2 separate regions of the Homo sapiens genome follow, and region 2 is linked to region 1. Evidence: promoter capture Hi-C in 16 types of primary human blood cells and fetal thymus (Javierre and others, 2016). All regions are on one chromosome and are shown on one strand. Each heading gives the region's core, a stretch centred on a gene start or on the middle of the fragment in contact. The rest is flanking DNA. Distances are from core to core; before and after follow the strand shown.

Evidence for each region. The method cuts DNA at HindIII sites, captures the fragments that hold promoters and counts their contacts. A CHiCAGO score of 5 or more calls a contact.
Region 2: a contact is called between the fragment with the promoter of KLK5 here and the fragment with the promoter of ASPDH in region 1, in 2 of 17 cell types (M0 macrophages and M2 macrophages). The highest score is 5.7, in M0 macrophages.

The regions. Positions count from the first base shown.
Region 1 is chr19:50,512,045-50,515,381 of GRCh38, forward strand. ASPDH (aspartate dehydrogenase domain containing) reads right to left here and starts at 1,869. Exons shown (of 7, transcript NM_001114598.2): 1 at 1,728-1,869; 2 at 1,228-1,372; 3 at 883-967; 4 at 617-766; 5 at 316-536; 6 at 92-246. The coding sequence starts at 1,779. The region is part of intron 1 of LOC124904747 (a long non-coding RNA gene); the gene reads left to right. RefSeq lists an enhancer at 1-341. The HindIII fragment of the contact is 8,504 bases long and covers 182-3,337 here.
Region 2 is chr19:50,951,026-50,954,362 of GRCh38, forward strand. It overlaps KLK5 (kallikrein related peptidase 5), which reads right to left and starts at 2,013. Exons shown (of 6, transcript NM_012427.5): 1 at 1,722-2,013; 2 at 1,560-1,643. The coding sequence starts at 1,632. All of the region lies in intron 1 of LOC105372442 (a long non-coding RNA gene), which reads left to right. The HindIII fragment of the contact is 21,591 bases long and covers 1-3,337 here.

The DNA of each region.
Region 1 (3,337 bases), core at 619-3,118:
AACCAGAACTGCAGAACTAGTGAGAGCCCGGGACCCCCAAGCTCTGCAGAACACAGGAGCCCAGGGCCGGGGGAGAGGGGCCTGGCCGCACCCAGGAGGCTCTGCCAGAAGGCCGTGACGGTGGCGGAGCCGGTGACCGCGCCTGGCTCGGCAGGGTTCTCTCTGCGGGTGTGCACAGCAAAGCTTCGGCCCGTGGGGCCCCGGGGTCCGCTCAGCTCTACATCCACCACGTGCATGTCCGTGAGGCTGGGACAAGAGGGGCAGTCAGTCTGGAGAGCCTGGACTCAGCCCAACACCCTGCTTAGCTCTGCTCACCTGGTATCAGCCACGAGCACCCCAATCACCCCATCGAAGCCCAGGCTGGGGGCAGCCAGGGCAGCCGCCGCCATGGTGTTGGAATTTCGCGGGGCAAAGGGGCAGAGCCCACGGACAGGGCCTTCGTAGAGCACAGTGCAAGGCCCAGGGCTGTGGGCTGCAGCCAGGGGTCCCTCAAGCCGGAAGCCATCGGGGTGTGTGGCCATGGTGACACGAAGGCTCTGGAAGCAAGAGCCCGGGTTAGGGGGAGTGGGGTCTTTGCAGGCCTCCCCTGGTTCCTGGGGAGCCCAGCAGGCCTCACCCGGAGGCCCCCAGCTGCATCCAATCTCCTGATGTCCTCAGCGCCCCACAGGGCCCCTCGGGCCACAAACACGGCGTGGTCCCAGTGCTGTGAGGCCTCCAAGAGCTGCCGCTCTGTGGTCTGGTCACTTAGAGCTGAGGGGGACCCCACCTGGGGTGGATGAAGGAGGGGAGGGTTGAGGTCAGGGAAGGATATCCACTTCAGGGTGGGGTGAGACCAAGACAGAAGGGGCAGGGCTCTGCGTAAATGGTTGGGGTGGGGCTTACCAGGAGATTGGCATGGCGCAGGATTTGTGCCCCAGATTCATGGATTATTTTGGGATGGGCCACTTCCACAACCAGATCAGGGCGCCTGGGAGAGGGGAAAGAGGGCGGAGGGTCTTGGAGAGGTATTAGGCCTCTTCTCCCCAAGGTTCCCTCCGAGTCTACTGAGGGCTGCCCTTCTTCTCCCTGACCTGGGAGGCGAAATGAGATGAATGGGTTCGTCCTGTTTCACATTTGCTTGAACCAAGGCCCAGAGAGGGTCAGGGAACCCCTGAGATCACACAGTGGCTAAGAGAGCCAGGACAGGAGCTTCAGGGAGCTCCACTCTCCCATGGCAAGGTCACTGACCTTTCCCCAAGGGCAGCAAGGTTCTGGAGCTGCAGGGAAGGGGGCACGCTCCCTGCCATTCGTCCTGGGTCACGATTCCAGACAAAAACAAGTTCTAGGCCAAGTTCTGGTCCCTGAGCCAAGAGGCGGGAGACGAGGGACTGTCCTGGGGAGAGGGAAAGGAGAGGGCTAGAGATCCAGAGAGAGGGGGACAGAGACCCAGAGAGAGAGGAGGTGGGGACAGAGACCCAGAGAGAGAGGAGGTGGGGACAGACTCAGATTGCGGGGTAGGGAGACAGAGATGGGGGCAGGGCAGAGACACAGTGGGGTGGACAGAGGCCCAGAGAGAAGGGAGACAGAGACGGAGAGGACAGAGACCTGGGGTGGGGGTGCAGTGGGCAGACCCAGAGACACAGCCAGGGGCAGATAGAGAGAGAAAAAAGTGTTTGTGGAGGGCAGAGAGTCTTGGGAGCTTTAGGAAGGGGTTTGGGGAAGGAGGCCAAGGATGGTCAGGGACTCACCGAGGCGGCCATAGCCCACCACGCCCACCCTCCACGGGCCCCTGTCGGCCATGGCCCTGAGTGCGGTGTCTGGGGCCTGGCTCCCTGGGCTGCTCGCTGCCCGCTGCACAAGGCCTGGGCAGCCGCTGCTCTTTGGACATCTGACCCTTGAGCCTCTGGGCTCAGTCTTCCCCCTTCCCCGCAGGCCCAGCGTGGGGGCGTGGGCCTGCGGGAGTGGAGGCGGGAGAACCCTTCCCTGTGCTCTGTCCACTTTCCCGGGTCCAGCACAGTGAGCATGGTGACCGGGGGTTCTGGGAACCCTGCGTGCCCCCCTTTCCCCTGCAGCACACCCTCTTTCTCCCTGCTGATGTGGAAAGTTTCCTCTGCAGTCCCCTGCCCCCTCTCTGGCCGGCCAGGTTGTCATGGAAACTGCATCTTGCTTTGGGTTGGGAGAAGAGATGGTGACAGGGACTCTGGGCTCTGTCTGTCCCCTCGTGCTCACCTCTCCTCCTTGTCCTCAGGCGGCTAAGGTCTGAGGGAGGCTTCAGCCTGGCCGTGGCCCTAGCCCTCCCAGAGGCAGCGGGAGCCCTGGTTGTGGCTTCTCCTCAATGTGCCCTTGCCTCAGCGGGTCCAACCTCCCTAGCCCCGCTGCGCAGCACGGGTCCCCTTCCCACAGCCTCCGCCCCTGTCCACAGCCTCCCTCCGCTCTGATCATCCTTCAGTTCACCTTGACTTGCTACCTTTCACTCTGTCCCCCATCGTGCCACCAGCTGCCTCCAGTGTGACGTTCTCGCTCCCACGTCCGTCCCTCCCGTTCCCCAGCTCGCGTCAGCCCAGGAGAAGCCTTCGAGGCCTGGAGAGGCCAAGTGCCCCCAACATGAGCCCCAGCCTCTGTGCCTTGAGGGTGCCTGGCATCGGAAATGGCGCAGGCTGCGGCAGCGCAGGCTCCCTGCCCCCAGCCACCACCTGGTACCCGCTGCAGTGTTTCCATGGCAACCAGGATTGGCGCTGGAAGGAGGCTGGAGAGAAAGAGAGCGTGAACGGGAGCATGGGGTGGGGGGGGCGGGCACTGGGTGGCGAGAGCCCCAAGTTGACGGGAGGAGAGAGGAGACAGACGCGGGCAGACAGAGAGGGGCCAAGACCCCGACGTGGCACCCAAAGGCTGCCGCTGCTGATAAGGGAGGAATTGGCTTCCAGAGCCAGGAGCCCCCGGTGTGGGAGAGATGAGATGCCTGGGTGTAGACAGAGCCAGGAAGGGGGCAGGGGCCAGGCACCTCACGGAAGTGGGGGGCCTCCCGCCATCTCTACCTTCTGACTCCTGCTGGGGCCTGAGTGTCCCCATAGTGCCCATAGCTGCCGTGTACGGGGTACAGCCTGGGCCACTACGAGGGGAGAAGGGGGCTGGGCGCAGGCCTGTGTGTCCTCAGGGCTGTGTCCCCGAAGCCACCTCAGCGTGGGAAAGCACTGGAAGGCCCTGCATGGCTCCGTCCCTCCCTCTGCCTCCCCCAGCAGCGTGAGATGGCAGCCCTGGCCAGCCCCAGCCCTCCAGGGCCTGCAACTCGGGCACCTTGACCCCCCAAGAGACATCACCACCCCCTCCCCCAACCCACCCAACAGCTGCCCACTGTGCC
Region 2 (3,337 bases), core at 763-3,262, 440 kb after region 1:
GAAAGGAGGTGGGGTCAGAGCTCATGGGCGGAGCTAGGGTTCCGAAAGCAGGACCAGGAAAGAAGGGCTCAGCTTAGGGGGCCACATGGAGGGGAAGAGCAGGCCTAGGTTTCTGAATTCTCAGATGAAAACATGCCTTCTCAATCCTGTCAATCTCCTCCTCTCACACACAGACCTACAGACTACATGCATGCCCCACTCCATCATCAGTCCTCCCGTGCCCATTCACTGGTTCTTACCCTTTTTTTTTTCTTTTTTTCTTTCGAGACGGAGTTTCGCTCTTGTTGCCCAGGCTGGAGTGCAATGGCGCGATCTCGGCTCACCGCAACCTCCACCTCCCGGGTTCAAGCGATTTTTCTGCCCCAGTCTCCCGAGTAGCTGGGATTACAGGCACGCGCCACCACACCAGCTAATTTTTTGTATTTTTAGTAGAGACGGGGTTCTCCATGTTGGTCAGGCTGGCCTCGATCTCCCGACCTCAGGTGATCCGCCTGCCTCGGCCTCCCAAAGGGCTGGGATTACAGGCGTGAGCCACCGCGCCCGGCCTGGTTCTTACCCTTGCTGATGGCCCTGGCACCACCATCATTCACGAACTCACCCCAAGAACCACGCGCACAACAGCAGTAACAGCCAAGCACGCACGCAGTTCTGCAGACACGCCCATGTTGCCTCCACAGGTGCAGCTAACATACAGCTCTGTCTCCAGGTACACACGCTCCCGGGCAGCCTAGCGGGATCGCACACCCTCATCCACAGTGTCTCAGTGCCACGCACAGATGCCGTGTGTGCACAGATGTTCAGACTGCCACATACTCTTCTGCACACAGGCACACACTGCAAGTCAGTCACCTGGCACCCATCTCCCAGAGATAGCTACCCCTGCACCCTCTATCCCTCCAGGCAGAGACAGAAACTCCAGACACACAGCTGCACCATCACACATACAGTAGCATTTACACGGCCTCACACAGACACACACAGTCACATACAGTCACCCCTACACAGAGCTTCAGGTAGTCACACGGTCACAAATACGGGCATCCATAACGTCACACTCAGCCACAATCACATAATCGCCTGCAAGCAGCACACAGTCACAGCTTTCCATGGTGATGACCACTTTTGTTGCACGCAATCCCGGGACCTCAGGGACAGGAACTGCAGATACCTGCAGTCATATACAATGCCAAGTCACCACACACAGCCAAACACACAGTGAACACCCCCAGTGCTACATGCATTCACCCACACAGCTGTGGAGCCACACACAATCTTAAATGCACACACAATCACAAAACCACACACACAGCCTCAAAGGGTCAGTGCCACCTGCCGCACAGTCACCTGATATGGGAAAAGGCATCCCCCTCCCCGACACACACCGTGGCAGTCACAGGGCCACATACGATCGCACAACCACAAGTACAGACAGAGACTCACATTCACCCGGTCCCGGAGTCATGCCCAGGCTCACACAGTTCCCCAGGGGACAGGCGCTCTAGTGCCGCAGAGACAGTCCTCCCAATCCCACAACCCTCCCACCCCAGAGTTCTGGTTACCTGTGACCCCCAGAAGCAAGGCTGTGATCAGAGCACAGAGCACCCACATCCAGGGGGGTCTTGCTGTAGCCATGGCCGCTGCACCTGGATGGGGAATGTCAGAGGGTTGGGAGGCCCAGGCGATCCGGGGAGCCCTTAACCCACTTCCCCTCCCTCCCCTACCTTATTTCCCCAGGTAGAGAGGAACCACAAGGACGGGCCACCATCGGCACTGCGCTGAGACCCAGGCACTATAGAATTCAGAAGATAGGAGTCTAGCAGCCTCCAGACAGGGCAAGGAGGGGACAGAGAAAGATGTGGGTGCAGGACGCACAGACACCTCTCCTTCCCTGCCTGCTGAGCCACCCTCACCAGGTCTCACTTGCCCTGTCCCCCAGGTAGGGGGTGGGGGATTTGCTCCCAGCTCAGCCGCAGACTTCTCAGGCCTGTGCCTTCCTGGCCACTGCCTCCTCCTGGGCTCTGGGCACCGGGCCTGAGTTATAACCACCCACTGCTCCCTGGGGCACATTCCCGGGCAATGAGGTGCCTATCGGGCCTTAGCAATAGCTCCTCCTGCTCCCCCTATCTCCACCCCCAGAGCACCCCCCACCCAGTCCGGAATGTCACTCCCTACCTCCCTGGCCCGGAGAATGGGGAGGGGTCTCCGGAAGCCAGGCCAGCCCCTTCCCTGCCTCCCCCAGCCTTAAGGATCTGGCTTCTCACCAACTCTGGGTCACTATTCTTGGCGCCTGGATTGCTTGCTTTCTTCTCTGCATTTTGCTCATTCCACCACTGTCTGTTCACCCTCGATACTCCTCTTTCCATCTTTGTCTCTGGTTTTTTCTCAGAGTCTTCTTCCATCTCTCTGTGGTTCTCCCTCGGCTATCTTTCTGAGTCTCTCTCAATATCTCGTGTCTCTCTCCACCCCTCTCTCTCTTTCTATCCCTCTCGCCTCTCTGTCTCTCTGTCTCTGTCTCTCTCTCTCTGTCTTTTTCTCTGTCTGTCTCTCACTCACTCTCTCTCTCTCTCCTCCTGTCTGTCTTAGGAGCCTTGTTTTGTTCTCCTTGGGCCACAGGTGTTTCTGTCTCCCTGTTCCTCCCTGTCTTTCTATGCCTCTGTGATTCTTTCTTTTTTAAAGGTTCTGAATGATTTGTCAAATATACCTTAGAGTTCTTGGCCCATTTATTTTCCTTTATTTCACTTCTGCTCTATTTGTTGACAGCATTTTTTTTTTAGATATAACTAAGGTACAACAAACTGCTTGTTCGTTTGTTTATTTATTTATTTGAGACAGAGTCTTGCTCTGTCGCCCAGGCTGGAGGGCGGTGATGTGATCTCGGCCCACTGCAACCTCCGCCTCCAGGGTTCAAGTGACTCTCGTGCCTCAGCCTCCAGCATAGCTGGGATTACAGGTGTGCCCCACGACACCCGGCTGATTTTTTTTTTTTTTTTTTTTTTTTTAGTAAAGACAGAGTTTCACCATGTTGGCCAGGCTGGTCTCAAACTCCTGGCCTCAAGTGATTCACCCACCTCTGCCTCCCAAAGTGCTGGAATTACAGGCATGAGCCACGGTGCCTGGCCCAAACTGCATATTTAAAGGGTAGAGTCTGATGGCTTTAGGTACTTGTCACATCAGCATAGTCAAGAAGATGATCATGGCCGGGCGCGGTGGCTCACGCCTGTAATCCCAGCACTTTGGGAGGCCGAGGCGGGCGGATCACGAGGTCAGGAGATCGAGGCCATCCCGGCTAAAACGGTGAAACCCCGTCTCTACTAAAAATACAAAAAAATTAGCCGGG